4 separate regions of the Homo sapiens genome follow, and all the other regions are linked to region 2. The links are contacts of gene promoters, found by promoter capture Hi-C in blood cells and fetal thymus (Javierre and others, 2016). All regions are on one chromosome and are shown on one strand. The core of a region is centred on a gene start or on the middle of the fragment in contact, and the rest is flanking DNA. Distances in the headings are between cores, read along the strand shown.

Region 1 (4,747 bases), core at 640-3,139, 1.8 Mb after region 2:
TTTGCGTGGACATATATTTTCATTTCTTTTGGGTATATATCTAAGCGTGGACTTGCTGGGTCACACGGTAACCTCCATGTTCAATATTGAAGAAGTCTCAGCAGCCCCTCTATGAGAAAAGGTTTGGGTTTCTGCTCTGAGGATTGAGTGTGGTCAGTGCTTGGCTGTTTCGCTAGGCCCTCATTTTTGTTTACACCCCCTCTCTTCTTGTCTTTCTTCCCCTTTATTTGCCTCTTTTATTCTCTTTTCTGTAGACTCCAGTCTCCTGCTGGTTTTAGTAGGAACTGAAGCTTTCACCGCCTAAAAGTTATTTGTAAAACACTTTGAACTCTCTGGAGGATGGACATTAGAGTAATAATGTTTATCTGTGGGTTAGGCACTCCTGGTGCTGTTTTGTAACAAAAGGGCTTATTGAGTAGGAGGCTTATTTAACTTGTTCGGGAGGGTTACCCTCCTACAACATGCTGTCCAAACAGATTCTTAATTACCCAGCTGAGAGTCTGAACGTCTTGAGGAATTACTTTGAAGTTTCTCGTTAATATTACCATCATATCATGTAAGTCTATATCGCGAGTTTGTAGATGTATGGAGTTCCTAGTGGGTGCCCGGCACATAATAATTGCTTAATAAATTGCGATTATGAAACGTTACTCTAATGAACTATTAGTGTTTTTTTTTAAGAAATACTTTTTTTTTTTTTTGAGACATTGTCTCGCTCTGTCGCCCAGGCTGGAGTGCAGTGGCACCATCACGACTCACTGCAACCTCCGCCTCCTGGGTTCAAGCGATTCTCCTGCCTCAGCTGGGACTACAGGCACGTGCCACCGCACCCGGGTACTTTTTGTATTTTAAGTAGAGACGGGGTTTCACCATGTTAGCCAGCTGGTCTCCAACTCCTGACCTCAGGTGATCTACCCGCCTCCGTCTCCCAAAGTGTTGGGATTACAGGCGTGAGCCACCACGTCCGGCCTAAGGTATACATTTTAATACTTTAAAATGCCTAACTTTTTTTGGGACACACTGGAGTTGTTTCATAACACACAAAATAGGCTTTTTGAGGGCACTGACATAAATTCTCATTGATCGTCACCCCCACGCGGTGAAAACCACACGTTACCTGGCATGTTTTCCGGTAGTTATTTTTAGAATAATAAAGATCGTCTTCACCTACCCCAGCAAATTTAATGTGCTGAACACAACAGAAACAACTTTTCTGTGGTTTAGCCAGCCCTCTCTCTTCAACTAAGTTATTTAGTGCGGATACGCAGAGAAGTGTAATAGGAGCTGCTGGGCCACCAAGAAAACGCTCTTGCCATTGTAAGGCTTCGATCTCAAGCGGAGATTTACCACGCATCTCACTTTAAACTGGGAAAGGAACCGGGATAAGGAAAAGAGCCCCCTGTGCGAGTTCGTTCCCAGCTCGGGGTTGGGGGCGTCCCAGGATAAATGAGATAAATGAGTTAATCATCTCCTGCAAGGCAGCCACTTCAGAGTTATGTCGCCCGCCTGCGGGGACTAACGACTGCAATTAAGACGCTCCTTCTCGGTCCCGGTCGGGTTCCGTGCAGCGGGGAGCCGACTGTGAGTCACCCCGGCCCCGGGAGCCCAAGCAAAGGGGAGGGGAGAGCGCCCAGGGTGGAGGGGAGCCGCGGGGCGAAATTCTAGCCCCAGGACGCCTCGGAAGGAAGAGGAGGGGCAGCTGCGCGTGGGGAAGAGAAGGAAGAGGCGTCCAGGGAAGGGAAGGGAGGAAGAAGGAAGGCGGAGGAAAGAGAAGGGGACGAGCGGGAGCGCGGGCCCGGCCGGGTGGCGCCTCGGGGAGTGTCTGCCGCGCGGGGGCCGGGCGGGGCGGGGCCGCGGGCGCTCAGAGCTCGGCGGGGGCTGCCGGGATTGGGGCGCCGCAGCTAGCGCTGGTCTCGGTGGCAGCTCCTCCGCGCCGCAGGACTCGGCTCTACGGGACATGTCCGTGCCGCGCTCGCCGCGCGCCCGGGCCTGCTAGCTCCTCTGTGCTCCCTGAACGCGCGGCGCCGCACCTGGCAGCGGCCTCGGAGCTCGGCTCGGGCAGGAGCGCGCGGCCGTGCGCACCGCGCAGCGACCGCTGCCGTCATGGGGCTGCAGCCCCTGGAGTTCAGCGACTGCTACCTCGACAGCCCGTGGTTCCGGGAGAGGATCCGCGCTCACGAAGCGGAACTCGAGAGGACCAACAAGTTCATCAAAGAGCTCATTAAGGACGGGAAGAACCTCATCGCTGCGACGAAAAGTAAGCGGGGACGCGGGCGCGGACGGGCTGCGGCGTGGCGAGGCGGCTGGGGGAGCCTCTCTCGGCAGGAGACGGAGGGTCTTGTGTCCGGGGCCAGCAGCCAGAGGAACGGGGAATTCATTCCGGACCAGCCCAGCTCTCTCGGAACCCCGGGGGGTCCCTGGAATCATTCCTCCTCGAGGCAGCGCGGCGAGTCCCCATTCCCGCCCCTGCGGCTCTGCGGCGGCGGGAACCAGCTGCCAGCGGGCCCCGCCTGGGCCCCGCCTGGCCCCGGCCGAACACCCCTCGCTGAATGCGCGCTCCGCTGGACCGACCCTAGGCACTCCTGGCCCGGAGTCAGGTTTCATTGCTGCCTAAAGCTACTCACAATCTCTTACAAAACCGAGGCATCTGTTTGCCTAGTTTTGTTTTGTGACTTCTCAAAAGAAATTTCTTGGGGATTCTTTGAAACCCTGCGGGAGTGTTGAGTTTTCCAGAGTCCCCTTAAGCTTCACCTTTTCCCTCTCATTGTCTGATCTTCCCCGACAGTCCTGTTCCAGGTCCTTCACGTGCCAAACCAGAAAGTCCACCTGGCTTTATGCTGCTTCCGCACATTCCTCCCCTGCCGTGCTGAGGAGGGTTCAAAGATTGGGGTTTGGAAGGGTGAGCGGACAGCCTGCCCTCTAGCCTAGGCGGGCACTGCTTGCAAATAGGGAATTCCACCCCGGTTAGGCTTGGTGCCTTCCTCCCCTGAACTTCTGTCTCTTAAACTCGGAAGAAGACACGAGATACAGGAGAGATAACTGTATTTTAGTGTAGTTGAGGAGAGTCTTTCTAGGAGAGAAGGGGCCAAAATTCATGCAGAAATACTGAGTTAGTGATGCTACTGGAAAATGGGGCGGAATTAGCCCCAGTGAGGAGCTGGGCAGCCTGACCATCCCTTGGATCCATAACCCCTTCGGAGGATGGCGGTGAATGTCCCCTTTCCCCCTTTAAAAGACCTGTCCATACAGCAGACAGGGACTTGGGCAGTATCCAGCCTTGAGGGGCTGGGTTCTTAGGGCCTTCATCACTCACCTAGATTCTCAGTTCAGTAATTCTCAGCCTTAGGTATTCGTCCCTTGTACATTTGTTTGTAGATACCACCTCTGGGGAAAATCCCCCATCTCACTGTTCTCCCGACCGCGCCCCGCCCCATTTTTCAGTAAGGGCGATTAAAACATATTGATTATACTGTCTCGGGCACCCAGCATGGTGCCTGGTACAGTAAATATGCATTTAATGAATAAGTTGAAGTACATTTCTGTGGGAAGAATTTAGTGAGCCATCCCTGTAATTTTGGAGGCAAGTCACTCAACTTCTCTGGATGATCTCCAAGGTTCCTTTTGGTTCTCTGACCTCTTTGGTGTTGCAAAATCAGGACTGGGACTCACTTAGGGTTTTTTTGTTTTGTTTTTAAGTCTCTGCTGCTTGAATCAGAAATGGGACTCTGGGACATGTGACAAGTGGGCTTATTTGGTTGAGGGCTCTCCAGGCCCTTGGCATCTGGTATGTGTGTTGGGTGGGAAGTAGGGGGGCGCCTATACATATGGAGGAGTGAGCATAGAAAGGAGGAGTTGGGAGCGGGGGTGCAGAGTGAACACGAGAGAATGAGGACTGAGGACTCTTTCTGTAACTTGATGTTAACCAGAGTCAGTGGCCGGGAGAATGTACCTTCTCTCTCATTGGTTGTAGTAGTTCCCTCTGGAGCTAGAGAGGTGTGGAGAGAGGCAGAGGGCAAAGCCAGTTTGGCCACTGGTAGAAAGCTATTTCTGTGACAGCATATTAGCTTTCCTGCCATCAGGACACATGCGTTAGGTTCCAGCAGCAGCCAGTGCATCTGGGGGGCCAGATGTCAGCTTTCCTCCAGACTGTAGACTTTCTTGAATTTGTGAATTAGTATCTTACTCATTTTGATTCTCGTCCTTTAGCATAAGAAACATAACTTGTAATCATGCTTTGAGAGTAATTGGGAAGTGTCTTTTTTTCTCGTTATGTTCATTAAGAATTTATGTTTAAATTCTTTCCCAGAAGGTGACAGGAACACAGCTGTAGCTCACATGCCTTTTCCCGCTTGCTCCATAAAGTTTACTTCTAGTTCCTATCAAAGACTAAGAGCCTTGGACTAAAGTCAGGGGACCTGAATTTAATTCTTCTTCACTGGTTAGGGCGTGGCTATAGGAAAATTGAGCAGGTCTTATTCTTTTGCGTCCAACTTCCCCTGTCTACCTCTTAGGGGAACTAATAAGGTTCTGCAGCATTTGAAAATGGCTTGATGAGGTTATTTGAAACTGCAGTCTAGGTAAATGGTTCATCTAACCAGTTGAGCTTTTGTATAACATCAGAGAGTCAAGGGATGACATTGGGTGGAGGATCTACAGAAAGAATAAAACCCACTAGGTCAGATTATTTATATTTCCAGATATTTTATATTTTATTTTACAAAAATGACCTTTTGAGCATTTCGAGAAG
Region 2 (4,857 bases), core at 2,137-4,636:
CAGAAATTGCAAAGTCCAAACACAAACTGCTTTAAAAACATGTGCAAAACACACTTAGCACAGGCAACACATATCCACAAAAATCCATTCAATGCAAAGGTAAGTGGAAAAGCTTAGAAAATTAAGGCCTCCCTTTCAAAACTGCAGGGACTTTTACGGTGTTTCCAAAGGTAATTGCTTCTTACTTCAGTAAAAGTGACTTTATGTGACTGAAAGAGGGAGGTGATATTTTTTTAAGTGAGTGGCTAACAGGATTCAATCAGACAGCAAAGTAGGAGAGCCCACTCTGAAAATATAACTTCATCACCAGGCACCGACGCGCAGGAAAGGCCCACCAAGCACACGAGCTAAAATGGAGCCTGAATTTCCTCTCAGACGGAGAGGGTAGTCGCAGGAGGTCAGGGTCAAGGTCATCAGCAGGGCACGCTGCAGCTGCCCGACTGCACTACACACAAGAGGAGGGAAGGCGTTCCATCTCCGTCACAGACGAAACAGATAAATCCCTTCTCCTCTCCCACCCTCCCTCTAACCCCGCCAACATTTTTTTTTTTAAAGCAGGGGGAGAAGAGAAGAAAGGGAAAATGACCAAATAACCTCACCGCCCTGTTTTCGCACACAAGCTCATCAGCTCCCAAAGTTGCCATCTAAGGGCAAGTTCGCAGAGAACACTGAAGCCCATTTTGTCCAAGCACGGCAGACCTCCCCTGACCCCCTCAGGATTCCTGCCTCCTCTCCCTCCCCCCACACGCCCCCGACAAGAGCCCGGCAGCGGGGCAGTCCGGCCATGTGCACGCACACTCTTCCACCAACTGCTGCGAGTTTTCTGTGAATCGCAGCGCGGAGCCTCCCAACTCGCCCTCCCCGACTCCACCGCCTTCTCCTTCCTCGCACAAAATTTCCCTACACACGCAGCCGCCTGCGAGTGATTTTATGTGCATATATATTACATATGTGATATTATCCTCAGAACCTCTAGCGGGCAGGCGAAGAAAGGACTGCACAGGGGCATTTTTTTTTTTTAAAGGAAGGGGAAAAAAGCACAACCCAAGCCCTTTGCGTCGACTCCTGCGTACCGGGAAGGGGAAAGAAAGAGGAATGTTTGCGGAGCGGACTGCTTGCAAGTGCCCTTGCTCGCCACTTCGGCTGCGGCCCGGGTGACACGGAGGCGCGGGGGCGCCTGGCCCGAGCAGCCCGCGCCCCCCTCCCGGTCCCCTGGGCAGGCACCGCCGCGGTTATTTCGCGAGGGGGAGATCGATCGCCCTGCCTGTCTGCAGCGGAAAAGCACAAGCTCACACACAGCCCGAGCCCGAGACACCATAACCTTAACCCTTCCCCCACCCTCCGTGAACTTCAGGTGACCGACCACGTCGGCCTGACACCCGGGCGGGCGGGCGCTCCGGCTCCACTCCCGCCCCCAGCCCGGGTTTTGCAGGATCGGGCTCCGAGCAGCGCCAAACCGCCGGGAGAGGGGAGTAGTGTGGGGGGAGAGAAGAGAAATTGACCCTCCGTCTCCCCCGACCCCTCCCTCCGGCGCCTCCCGCGTCCCCTCCTCCCCGTCACCCCGCCCCACGCCTTCTCCCCTGCCCCCTCTTCCCTGCATTCAAGGAGCCGGGCGGCCCCGGGGGATATTTTTAGTTGCTTCTTTCTCCTTCACTTTTAGCTTTAGCAGCATCTCGAAACACTCAAAGCGGAGAAAGACTGGGGGGTTGGGGGGAGCTGGAGAGGGAGTGGGGGAAAAGTTAAGAGTCGCGCAAAGAAAAGCCGGAGGGAGGGCGGAGAGGGACCGGGGGCGCGGGTGGAGGAGGGGAAGGGGACCGGGCCGTGCCGGCGGGTGTGTGTCTCCAGTTGGCGTGTGTGGCTGCCGCCGGGGAGGGCTGTGATGCACTTTAGTCCTGGACTCTGCTCAGGCTCGCCAAGGAGGGGGTCTGAGAGCCCGAGTCTCGCCCGGCTCCGTCTGCTCCGACTGACCCCGCATTTTATTGCGGCCAGGAGCCCTGCTCCTCCCTCTCCTCCGCTCTGCAGGGACCTCGCGCGCCGCGAGCCGCCCTGCCTCCTGCCTTCGCCTCGGCGCAGCTCCCGCACCCCACATCCGCCCGCCGCTGCCCGGCCTCGCCCCCCGCCCGGCCGCCCCGCGCCCCGGCGCGCCCCCTCGCCTCGGCGCCGCGGGAGCAGCCGCCCGGCGGCGCGTGTGTACCCGTGTGTTTGTGTGCGGTGCCCCTACACCCTCCCCAGCCGCTCCCGCCTCGCCCGCCCCCGACTCCCCTCCTCCGCCGCCGCCTCCTCCACCTCCGCCTCCTCCTGCTCCAGCCGCCGCCGCCGCTGCCGCCGGCGGCTCGGGGGCCGACCAACCCCGGCGCAACCTTTAGCCAGGGACGGACCTCTCCCTGGATCCTGTACCCGGCGGCTGCTGCGCGCCCTCTCCCCGACACCCCCAAACGCCATGTCACGGCCCCCAGCCCTCCGCGCGCCCCGACCCCCGCACCCTCAGGCGCCGGAATCCACAAGGAATTTTTTTTTTTTTAAGATTCCAACCTCTCCCACCTCCCCCCACCAAACCCCCGATAAAACCCCCGGCATCCACACTACTCCCCTCCTCCCTTCTCTTGCCCCCTCCCCCCAGCAACCCAGAGTGAGGAGGGGGAAGGGGAGGGAAAGGGAAAAAAAAGCCCGATCTCAAGGAAAAAAAGGGGGGGGGTGAGAGAAAGAAAGAAAAAGAGAGAGAGAATAGAAAGGGCACGGGGCTGATCATCACCAACATGGCTGCCTCAGCATAGACCTAAACGAGGAGTAACCCGGGCTGTGTCTTTGTCAGTTTCACCTCTGTAACCCTAAACTAATGCAGAAAACAACGGAGGAGGCTGCGGAGGGGAAAGAGGAGAGGGAGGGCGAGAAAATGGCACGAGAGGAGGTGGAGAAGGGATGACTTACGTGAGGGAAGGCGCTTGGGCTGCTCCTGCTTCCTCCTGGGCATTTTCCCCCTTTTCTCACATTCTCCTCCTTGGTTAATGTGAGATCAAATAAACCCCCGTGGGGGCAGAGAGGCAGACACTGGCAGGAGCGGGGAGGTAGTTGGGGGGCGGGCGGGCGGGCAGGGGGAAACCCCTTCTCCGGTGTGTGCAATGGGTTGAAGCTTGTTTCCTGGAGCCAGAAGAGGGGTTTTCTTCTTTTCTTTCCTTTCTTTTTTCCTTTTTTTTTTTTTTTTAAATTTTTGGTCGTGCACCTGGCTTGTCCCCGAGCGTAATATTCTTCAATGGAAACGGATCTAATAGGTGTGAGTGTGTGTGTGTCCTATGCTCGCGTGTGTGATGGGAGGTATAAATAAATGAGTGCCGGTGCGGCGGTGTCTATGGCCGCGCTCTGTGTCTCCGAGCCCCTAACACTAATGTCGGGATCAAAGGGCAGCGGCGGCGGCAGCACAGCTCACAGCTCGCTCTCTTGCTCTCTCTCTCTCTCTTTCTCGCTCTCTCTCCTCTCGCGCTCTCTCTCTCGCTCTCTCTCTGTCACACACACACACACACAAGAGGCACAGACTGAGGGAAAGAGCGAGAGCTACACACACACACACGCACGCACACACACACACAGAGCAAAGAGGAAAGTGCCCCAAGGCTCCCAGGGCGGACTCAGCCTCGGATTTACAACCGCTCTGTCTGGAAAGAATGGGGGGCGCGCGTGCGGGGGTGGGATGGAGTTCTTCAAATTTATCCCGCTAGTCACCAAATCTAGGGGGAAAAAGTTTTTCTCACTCTTTAAACAACGATTAGTTCATTATTTTACTGACTTTTAAAAAGGAAATAAATTTCTCTCTTCACTTTCTTTTGTTTATTAAGCTACATTTTGTTCTGTATGAAATTCTGCAGGCTTTTGTCCCTACCCCATCACCTTAAATCTGGAGGTTATCGTCTCCCACACACTCTTCAAAAACATTCCAAAAAAACTAATTTAAAAAAAATGAAGACAACATATGGTGAAATCAATAACTTGGTTGACAGTTGACAGAATAAGTGCCCAGTTTTGGAGTGTCCACTGGAGTTAAAACTGAAAAATGCTCCTAAATGAACATTACAGCTACTTGACAAAGAGAGGAAAATAAGATTAGGTCACCCCTGATGGTTGCTTTAACTGCTACGTGATACTCCTAGAGTGCACACAGCAATCTTTACTTCGGAAATTCACTTTTTCCCCTGCTATATACTGCAGGTATATGAAGTTTACCCTGAAGCAATTCCAGTGTGCATTATGAGCCCAATATAGCAGTTTTCATTAACTGATACATACTTTCATTACCTTACAAATCACACATCTTTCTTCAAAGAGAGACATAAAGGAGAAAAATAGAAAAGGACGGGTCTCACTAGAGCACAAAAGGTACTTGGTGAAAGAGGACTGTTCTCTTTGTGACTTGCAGTCATTTGGATAAAAGTTCACTCAGAGGTTGTTAATGATTTAAACTCCAAAACCTGCTACTATAATTGAAATAAAAATGGTCTGAAGAAGAGTTGTTTCATAAAACTCTCTTTGTAAGAGGAAACTTTGAACTTAGCAGAATACATTATATGTCATGAGTCATGTAGCTAGAAAATAAAAAGGTGCATTATTTAACTACATCTTCCCTTTTTAGCTTTTTTAAAACTCTGACTCATCATCTTATTATGTTAAATATTTTCCTACCAATTTTTAAATAGACCTTTTCATCAAAGAAAGTGGAGGCACAGTAAAGACATAGAACATTAAAATGACACTCTATAAGCCTACATGGATAACTCATGCCTCTTTGAGGTTGAGTTAATTCTTACAACTTCAGTGGTGTTAAAGAGAGCCATGGGGGTTAAATTCTGACTTGCCTTATTAAAAATA
Region 3 (4,472 bases), core at 1,572-4,071, 1.0 Mb after region 2:
TATCCTTTTTGATGTTTACTTGAGTTCGATGATTTTTGTTAGAAAATGTAAGCATGGAATAGAAACCAAATGCAAATGACATACATGGAGAGGGATATGTCTTCTTTGTCATACAGATCAACTGTGCTTTTTTTTTTTTTTTTTTTTTTTTTTTTCAAAATTCTGAGTCAACGTTTCCTACCATTAAAGTTTCAGCTGCCAGTTCCTTCATTTTGCTCTCCTCTGATCTGAGAACATTAGCAGCAGGAGCACCTTTACTCTTAAATTTAGTTTAATGTAAGTACTGCAAGCCCTGCTGGCAAGCCTCAAGGCACAAACTCTGAATGGGGGGTGGTCAGAGCTGAATGATAAAGTGGAAAAAAAGTTATCAGAGCTGAATGATAAAGTGGAAAAAAAAAAGCATGTTGGAAAAAATATCCCTCAATCAATCTATGTTGGACAGTTTAAGCTTAGAGTCAGGATGGAAGTTGAACAGGCTTTCTCTTTGTTTCTGAACCCCACATCCTACCTTACCTATGCCCATCGGGAAAGTGAATTTTGTTTCTCAGAATCAATACGTGGCCACATAAGGTATTTTGTTTTACACAACAGATAATGTGTGATCTGAATTTTATGACAGAGTTAATATTTTGAATGCAGCAAATATTTAAAGGGGTCCTGTAACAAATTAGTTTCTTATCTAAGTAATTGCCATCTTTTATGCCTTACAAGTTCAAGCAGGGTTTGCAGTACTTCCATTAAATTAAATACCTGTAAAGAAAGCCTTTTGGTCTTTGTTAATATGAGTTGCATCATTTTCCTGGTGTTGGTCAGACAGCATTCTCAGTTCCCATGTGAGCTCCAATTTAGACTCAACAATGAAGAATGGGACTAGTGCTATGAGGTGACTGACCCAGGCCTGTAGCATAAATGGAGCATATCACCACTAGTTATGGCACCTCCTTAGGGTTCTCCCAGATCAACATCTCAGGGGAAAACACACAAGATGGTGTGGCTGCAGGAAGGGAAATTGCTCAGGTTCAGGTGAGTAAGAAAGAAGAAGAATGAAAGATACCTCTTTGGCTGCTACCAAATGAGCTTAGCCCCAGGAGCTCAGGCTGAATCAGCCTGTTAGGAGGACCCACAGGAACCTCCGCCAGTGCTAGCAAGTGGGCAGTGCTACAGTGTGGCATCATCGGGTGCTGAGACAAAGATCAAAAGGCCGCCTGAAGCCATTCCACTGTTGGTATTCAGAAGAAATTTGGTGTACTCTTTGATCTGCTGGTTGGCTCTTGTATCACAGCTACAATCTCTAAGTTTGGCCCCCACATGCAAAGACAAATGAAAATGGAGAAATACAGGATGAAAGGTTTGAGAGTGCTAGGTCAGGCTGAATGTGTCCCATGGTGTGAGCTTAAATTTTTGGCCCCCAAGTAAAATTCTTCAAAGAGTAACTCTCCTGCCCTCTATCCCCAGAGATGCCTTTATCAGGAAACACAAAGGAGGGAGACCTACTACTATGTAAATGGAGGCTACTTGGAGAATGACTATGTCTGAGGCTGACCAGTGTCTGCAGGGTTCAGTCACTTTGGAGTAAAAACTGAGATTAGAGAAATAAAGCCAGTAAACCACAGTAAGCAAGTTTATTATACATCATCACGAGTTCAAAACAAGTAGGATTTTACTAAAAATCATTCATAAGAATTAAAACTTTTCATATTATCCAAGCTCTTTTACTATGAAAGTTTAATGAAAACTACAGAAGAAATATCACTAATTATGCTCCCTAAGTAAAAAAAAAAACATAATTAAGTTTATAAAGAGTCAGTAATAATGTTTATTCTCGGTATCATAATTTTTGGACACTTCTGGCACTCTCTCATGGGTAGATAGGTTGTTTAGTAAAATAAATAGAAAACACACATTTCCTACCAGCTGACATTGATGGCTAAATCACAAAATCAAGCAGGAAATGAGTTTGAAGGCAAGCCATATTTCACGTGACTTACATTTGCAGATTACTGCTGATGGTCTCTCCAGGCTTATAGACTTCAGCCTGAAAATCAGGAAGCAAAGAATAATAGCAAAGAAGAAAAATTTAAAATCATTCAGTAGTGTAACTCCTCTCCCCGCTCCAAGTCATGGAATAAGATTCACTCTTACAACAAATACTTCCTACCATCTAAGTTTAGATGAACTTTTAAAGAAAATCCCCAAGTATAGATCCTATGAGAGAAACTAATCACTAAATCAGTGAAATGCCAAAACATCTGAAATATGTATATGTATTGATGTATTTCAATACAAATGTGACATTAGGGATAACCATTTGTTCTCTCAAATTTACGAGATACAGTTATCTTTGCCAAAAACGGAGAGCATCTCAGTTCCCTTTCTGTTCCCACCTAGTTCTCAACAGGACTAAAGGACTTATCCTATGCCTAGTTTTTCACTCCCCTCAGAGGGTCAGGTGAACTGGGGAGCAAGAGGAACTGGCGCCTTTCCCTACTTCTCTTTCAATTCGTTTATTGAGGTAAGTGGCGAGGGCCTGGACTGAGGAAGCTTGAGAAAGACTGATGGAGGAAGGGCTGGCTGTAGGGGTCAGGGAAGGGGCTGCCTGAAGAACAGCCTGCCTCTCCAAGGAGCTGAGGAAGTCCGGTCCCAACCTCGCCCCTGCCGTCACGAACCTCGGTGCACTGGCCCAGGGAAACAACTCCAGTTTTCCGTTCCGCCGAAGTCAGTCCCCCACCGGCGGCAGGTGCTGGGCGTTGGCGCTGCCCCCTCCTCTCTCAGTGATTCCGAAGCCTGGCTCCGCCGGAGCGGAGACAGGGGACGCCGAGAGCGTCTCCACGGAAACAGAGAGGCGAGGCATGACGGCCGGGGGTGGAGTTAGGCTAAACCGGGCCTCGGGATTGGGGCAGCTCCCAGACTCTTCGGGCTTGGGGGCGGAGTCTGGCGAGGGGTGGAGCTTACTGACGGCCGGGCGGGGCCCCCAGATAGCTGAGGCTTTTCAAGCAGGGCTGCTTTCAGAAGTTAGCTCGCTTTTAGGCATTTTCACGTAACCCAAGAGGCTCGAATTTGCCACTTTCATTTCTTTCGTGGCCTTGCATTCTCAATGCTTTTTCTTCATTTCTCTTTTGTCCACAGGATTGATGGGAAAACGCTGAGCTAGGCATTCATGATCCCCGTGACCTGAAGCCAATTTATCCATCTAGCTAAGTCATTCATTCTCCTCTTCCTCAGCCTCTCTTGCAGTCAGAACCCACCACAAATGCCTTTTCCTGTCATGTCCCCACAGACAATTCAATTTTGAATTGTGGTTCGCTAAATACTCAAGGTCTCTTTCAGAGAATCTCCCTGCATCTGTCCTTATTTGTTTTGCATTTTTACCTGAAACTCAGGGTTTTATATTTACACTAAATAAATATCATCGTATTAATCTCGGCCCATCATTCCATCTCTTCTCTCAGACATGAGTGCAAGGAAGTGAAATTCCTTGCTCATTCCCTCATATATATATGGGGCAAGAGAGTGAGGCTTGCCACTTGTTACTTCTAAAATACAGAAGTGCTGGAAAGTTAGGCTATTGTTCCTTGTCTACTGACACACATTGTAGGAGAACGAGCCAGCGATATTGCTCACACGAATCATTCTATTAACCATAAATCGATTCTATTTAGAGTACAAGCATATCAACCATAACCACACTTTCATTCTAACATCTCATTTGCTGTAACAAATTACTAAATTATTTCCAAGTATGTTTACATTATACATTCAATGAGCACTGTGACTATCTGTAATTGGGCTCCACCCCATCCCCCACACCAGTAAGACTCTCATTCTATTCTCATGAGTTTATTTTCCAGTTTCAGCATCACCTTAACACACTCCACTGTGACCTGTGTGAATTCTTTTCCAGTCCTTGCTGCTTTTTCTGACTTAGAGTCTGTTTGTGAATTCCATGCACCTTCCTTTCTCACAGGAGGCTGTCTTAGTTGGCTTTCTAGGTAGTTCCTTCCTGCTTCTTTGGACTTACTTCTCCTACTTGCTGTTTTTTCACTAGAAGTTCTTTGACTAACTCTCTTTCTCCTTCTGTTTAGCATAGAATTCCTTCAGTTAGAGAACTTTGTTTGCAAGTGACAGAAAACACAAACGGGCTTAAGCAAAAAAGGAAACTGATGAAAACCAAAGGATGCCAGATTCAGCTGCAACTTTATCTAGAAACTCAGGCCTTTCTGAAAGTTTTGAGGATTCCAGAATACCTCTTCCTTTCACTACACAGAATTAATTTCTCCTCCTCTCGCCTCCTTTCTCTTAGACCTACCTTGATTTTATCAGTATAACTTTGCATGGTGTTTGGCTTATGGGAACCAAACTTGCCTGAAAGATTGTGAGTACCTTGAAAGCAGAGACTTTGTTTTATTGTTTTCTGAATTCCCTTGTACCGTATGCAAGGATTAGTATACAGTATGTGCTCAAAAATATTTTTT
Region 4 (4,575 bases), core at 1,807-4,306, 1.3 Mb before region 2:
TTAACTGAGCAGGGTACCTACTTTGCTAGTCACTAAAAGAAGGCATAACACACTCTATGGGAAGCATATCGATGGACGTCTATTGGCCTTGCTTCTTCCTCTGTACCTGTAGTCATAATGATGTTTATCACTCTTCGACCTCATCTTCTCAGCAGTAGGTTATTGTAGTGTGAAATGTCTGCACACAATTAGTTCAATTGGTATAATCCTATTGCTAAGAAGGCCAAGGTCAAGGGTTTGATTCAACTGAATTTTCTAGTCCATAGCCATTCCTAACCCCGGCCAGTTAGCTTACACATGTGTCTTCTTAGTCCCAAGGAGAGTAAACCAGAAGGAATAAACAGATGGATATATCAAAATCCACCACTTCTATCAGAATATGTTCATGAGTAAGTCTTACTCATGAAGAGTCAGTAACTTTTTTTTCCTTATCATGATGAGCAGCACTTATAATGAGGAAAAATAACTTTTCCCTGGAATACATGCTGAGAGAAAAGGGAGAACTCAGAATACTCCAAGGAAGCATTTATTTTATACGTCAGTATTTATAGGGTGCTTTGTGGTATAGCAGAACCAGGCTCATGATCCAGCAGAATATTTACAGATCCAAGATAGTTGATAAATGATCAGAACTTAAAAAAAATACAGCTGCTAGAATATTTGGTGTTTGTTCATTATTAGTAGACCTGACCATATTATGATGATCCCGAGTGAGCTAAACATGCACTTTCAGTAAAATGACAAACAAAAGGGAGCCCTGGCAATAAATGTTAAAATATATCTCCCTATTCATCATTGTTCACTGCAGAATCGGGTCATTTAAGGTAAAGTATTAATAAAAGTGTTAGATACTTAAATTCAAATAAAATTACATGATTGTAAAGAAAAAAAGCCCATGTATTTAAGTAAAAATCTTCTGAGTTGGTTTTCACACTTAGGTTATTCAGTTTGTCTAAATTACATAAGAAGCTTGGAGTAAATTTATTGTTAACATTCTGTATTTTTTCTTAATTTGCTAAGCAGGCATTGTACCTCTGGAGCCACCAAGTTTATGAATATATATTCATTAATCTTTAGATATTCCGTTTGAAAATGACTTCTCATTTCCTCGTATTTGTCCCAGTTACTAATTCCCTTTAAATTGGAATTGACCACCAGCATTGTTTATTAATTTCACCTTAAGATGGTATTGGTTAGTAGACAGTAATGCTGAAACACACATTTTTTTTAAGCAAGCTTGAAATTTCTTTTGAATTGCATTTTGAAATTTTTCTGTAACCCTTCTGGCAAACATCACCTTAAAACTATATTTCTCACTCACATATCCAGTTATAAATATGACCATAGTATGACAGTCTTCCTGCATGCATAATATAGGCATGGAGATTTTGTTGCCTGATGGTAAATATTTCCAAAACAAGATCTAGCCCAAAACTGTGCAAAGAGTTTGATTTAACAATTTAGTTTTTTTTTTCTTTTTACCTCTAAGAGACTTGTTTAACACTATTAGGCAGTTTTCATGTGAATGCTTACCCATTTAAGAAGGGAGGGAAAAGTGCTTCTAATCCTTGAATTTTTTTTCAAAGAAAAATAACTTTCCAATTGCCTTGCCCCTCCCGTGGAGCACTTCCCAGCTGCTTGCCTCTTTTTCTCTGTGCCCCCCACCGCATGCATGTACACACACATACACACACACTCCCAAGGACATCTGCTCTTACTTGCCTGGTTGCCAAGACAAGATCCTTTCCAATAGCCTAGTCAGAAATTGGCAGGGAAGAGTCTCTCTCAGAAAGTTCAGGGTGAGACATTTCACTCAAAAGTTAGGTCAAAATGTACTTCAAGCTTTACAACCATTTGGGACCTTCACATTCTAAGATAAGTTTTAGGTTTGAGGGATCCTAGGTCAAGCACACAGAAAGTAAACTTGTAGTGTCTTTTATGCGCCATTGATGAGTCTCACTTGGCTGATCCCAAATTCTTGTTCTTAGAAATCCTTGCTAAATCTGAATTTGTTATACAACTTCTAAATTTCTACTGAGCTACTCAGTATGTTTATCACAAAATTGATGAGGTGTGAAAATATAATTTGTTATATAAAAATAAAAACTTTAGATATATAATATAAAGTATAAGACCAGAAGCAGCAATTTAGGACCATATATAAGACTGACTCTGGTAATACCGTCATATTTTGAGAGCAGAAATCATTAGAATGTGGAAGTGAGTCTTGCTAATATGTCCCAGAAAGGTAATACCTTATTAACTCAAATTGTAAAAGTAATATCAAAACTTTTTTGCCATAAAGTTATTTCCTTTCATATTCAAAGATAGCTGTCTTTATATGATAAAATATTTAATGTGTAAGAAAAGAAAACACATCTTACTTTTAGATCCTATTAAGTAACTCCGTTGTGTTTTTGTTTTGGCTTGTTGATATGTCAGCTTTTCTGTTTGAGACGATTGAAGGAATATTTTAAATATAATTTTTCTATTACACATTAATCATTATCTCCTATAAGTGAGGTGCAGGAAAAAGGCACTTATATATTTGAAAATGGAGGCTCTGTTATAAGCACCAATTCATTGCTTGATCATTACACAGTGAGTCAGTTGTTTATTATAGCATATAATGACCTTGTGTTATTCATTAGATTTATTATTTAATCTTATGTAAGTGGCAATACACTAAGACTTGTAAAATGACCAAAACTGGCACCTGATGGCCTGTCTCCTTCTTGATTCTTGTTTGTTCATCTGAGGAAGTTATTTAGTATTGTAGGAAAAAATGCTAAATACTGATGAGATATGCTCACAGGTACAACATACAGTAACTAGAGAATCTTGAAAAGACATCAATGCAATAGCAAGATAAATGCTGAGTTTGTCTTATTTGTACTTCATGGGAGCCTTTTAATACTCAACACAATATTATTTCACTTTTACCACAATTTTTAAATTTAGTTTAAAACACAAATGGGAATCCCAACCCCCGATATTTTTCATTCTTTTTATTTAGTATTTATTTATTTATTTATTTATTTATTTATTTTTTCAGAAGGTGTCTCGCTCTGTGGCTCAGGCTAGAGTGCAGTGGTGTGTTCTTGGTTCGCTCCAACCTCCACCTCCCGGTTCAAGTGATTCTCCTGCCTCAGCCTCCCGAATAGCTAGGATTATAGGCGCATGCCACCATGCCCTGCTAATTTTTATATTTTTAGTAGAGACGGGGTTTCGCCATGTTGACCAGGTTGGTCTCAAACTCCTGACCTCAGGTGATCCACCCACCTCAGCCTCACAAAGTGGTGGGATTACAGGACTGTTTTTATTTCAGTCTAGGTTCTTCCTAAAATATCCACCTAGTTTCCCAAAATTCTTTTCCTCATCTTATATCTTTCAAATAAGGTGGTTTTACTATGACATTAGGTGCTTCTAATGAGTCTTTTTATATTTTTTAAAGGTTTCCTTCAAACAACTGCGGATGAGTTTTGCTTTTACTATGCAAGAAAAGATGGTGGGTTGTGCTTTCCAGATTTTCCAAGAAAACAAGTCAGAGGACCAGCATCTAACTACTTGGACCAGATGGAAGAATATGACAAAGTGGAAGAGATCAGCAGGTTCATAAAGATAAATGCTCTTTAATCTTTTTAAAAAAACCCAACTGACAAATCTTGTGGTTTTGACAGTGAATCAACTGTCTGTGCTTATGTTCAGCAGCTATATCCTCCAGATGCTTTAGTTTTTTCTCTGTGGTAGTTTGTTTCTCTAAAATTCTAGCTTAAATGCTTTTAATACTTAGACTACTAATCGTATATTATGAGCTTGGCTTCTCTATGACTCATGTCAATTTTATGGGTATAGTTTTAAGCCTGAATTTTATGATTGTTGTTAGTCTATGGCACTGTGAAAATGTTCAGCACAATTACCATTAGCAAATCAGGTTTTTCTAAATAGATCTTAGAACTTTCTCTCTACATGCCTTCCATAAGGTTTATTTATTGTGAGTAAAACTAATTTTAATTATAGTCGCTGAAATATGAGAAAATGAGATTATGACATTTGAAAATATATACATGTTTTGATTCTCTTATTTTACTTTCTGAAAGAAGGCTGTTTTGTTTTTTGCCATTGAAAGAATTTAAAAGAACCACTTAAAAGAATTATATTGTGACCCTTGGGTTAGCAAGCACTTCATGGTTCTCAAAACCATGATTCCTAGAGGAAATAGAGTTTGAAAAGGATGCCAAGTGCATCCCTTATCTCCTTCATCTCAAGAAAAGCTTACCGGTTTTCTTTAATTTGTTTAGAAAGCACAAACACAACTGCTTCTGTATTCAGGAGGTTGTGAGTGGGCTGCGGCAGCCCGTTGGTGCCCTGCATAGTGGGGATGGCTCGCAACGTCTCTTCATTCTGGAAAAAGAAGGTTATGTGAAGATACTTACCCCTGAAGGAGAAATTTTCAAGGAGCCTTATTTGGACATTCACAAACTTGTTCAAAGTGGAATAAAGGTTGGCTTTTTAAATTTTATTTATTTTTGTGCTGGCTACGTTAATTTTATTTTAGTGTTACCTTCCTCACTG

Evidence for each region. Contacts are between HindIII fragments. The CHiCAGO score rates a contact against its expected background, and 5 or more counts as called.
Region 1: a contact is called between the fragment with the promoter of ARHGAP10 here and the fragment with the promoter of ZNF827 in region 2, in 1 of 17 cell types (fetal thymus). The highest score is 7.7, in fetal thymus.
Region 3: a contact is called between the fragment with the promoter of TTC29 here and the fragment with the promoter of ZNF827 in region 2, in 2 of 17 cell types (fetal thymus and M2 macrophages). The highest score is 8.8, in fetal thymus.
Region 4: a fragment that was not itself captured here is called in contact with the fragment with the promoter of ZNF827 in region 2 in 1 of 17 cell types (fetal thymus); the score reaches 5.6 in fetal thymus.

What each region holds. Positions count from the first base shown.
Region 1 is chr4:147,730,199-147,734,945 of GRCh38, forward strand. It overlaps ARHGAP10 (Rho GTPase activating protein 10), which reads left to right and starts at 1,890. Exons shown (of 23, transcript NM_024605.4): 1 at 1,890-2,257. The coding sequence starts at 2,104. RefSeq lists enhancers at 1,501-2,393, 2,394-3,286, 2,607-2,676, 3,805-3,934 and silencers at 1,587-2,106, 2,417-2,496. The HindIII fragment of the contact is 2,455 bases long and covers 289-2,743 here.
Region 2 is chr4:145,935,437-145,940,293 of GRCh38, forward strand. It overlaps ZNF827 (zinc finger protein 827), which reads right to left and starts at 3,387. Exons shown (of 15, transcript NM_001306215.2): 1 at 2,929-3,387. The coding sequence starts at 2,971. RefSeq lists silencers at 1,050-1,629, 1,730-2,139, 2,260-2,329 and an enhancer at 2,704-2,763. The HindIII fragment of the contact is 1,765 bases long and covers 3,129-4,857 here.
Region 3 is chr4:146,943,043-146,947,514 of GRCh38, forward strand. It overlaps TTC29 (tetratricopeptide repeat domain 29), which reads right to left and starts at 2,822. Exons shown (of 13, transcript NM_031956.4): 1 at 2,667-2,822; 2 at 1,989-2,035. TTC29-AS1 (TTC29 antisense RNA 1) reads left to right here. Exons shown (of 7, transcript NR_188447.1): 3 at 2,389-2,512. RefSeq lists a silencer at 2,815-2,954. The HindIII fragment of the contact is 10,093 bases long and covers 2,540-4,472 here.
Region 4 is chr4:144,655,336-144,659,910 of GRCh38, forward strand. It overlaps HHIP (hedgehog interacting protein), which reads left to right. Exons shown (of 13, transcript NM_022475.3): 3 at 3,455-3,611; 4 at 4,302-4,503. Among named protein-coding and RNA genes, the nearest start is that of HHIP, 11 kb to the left of the region's middle. The HindIII fragment of the contact is 2,432 bases long and covers 1,841-4,272 here.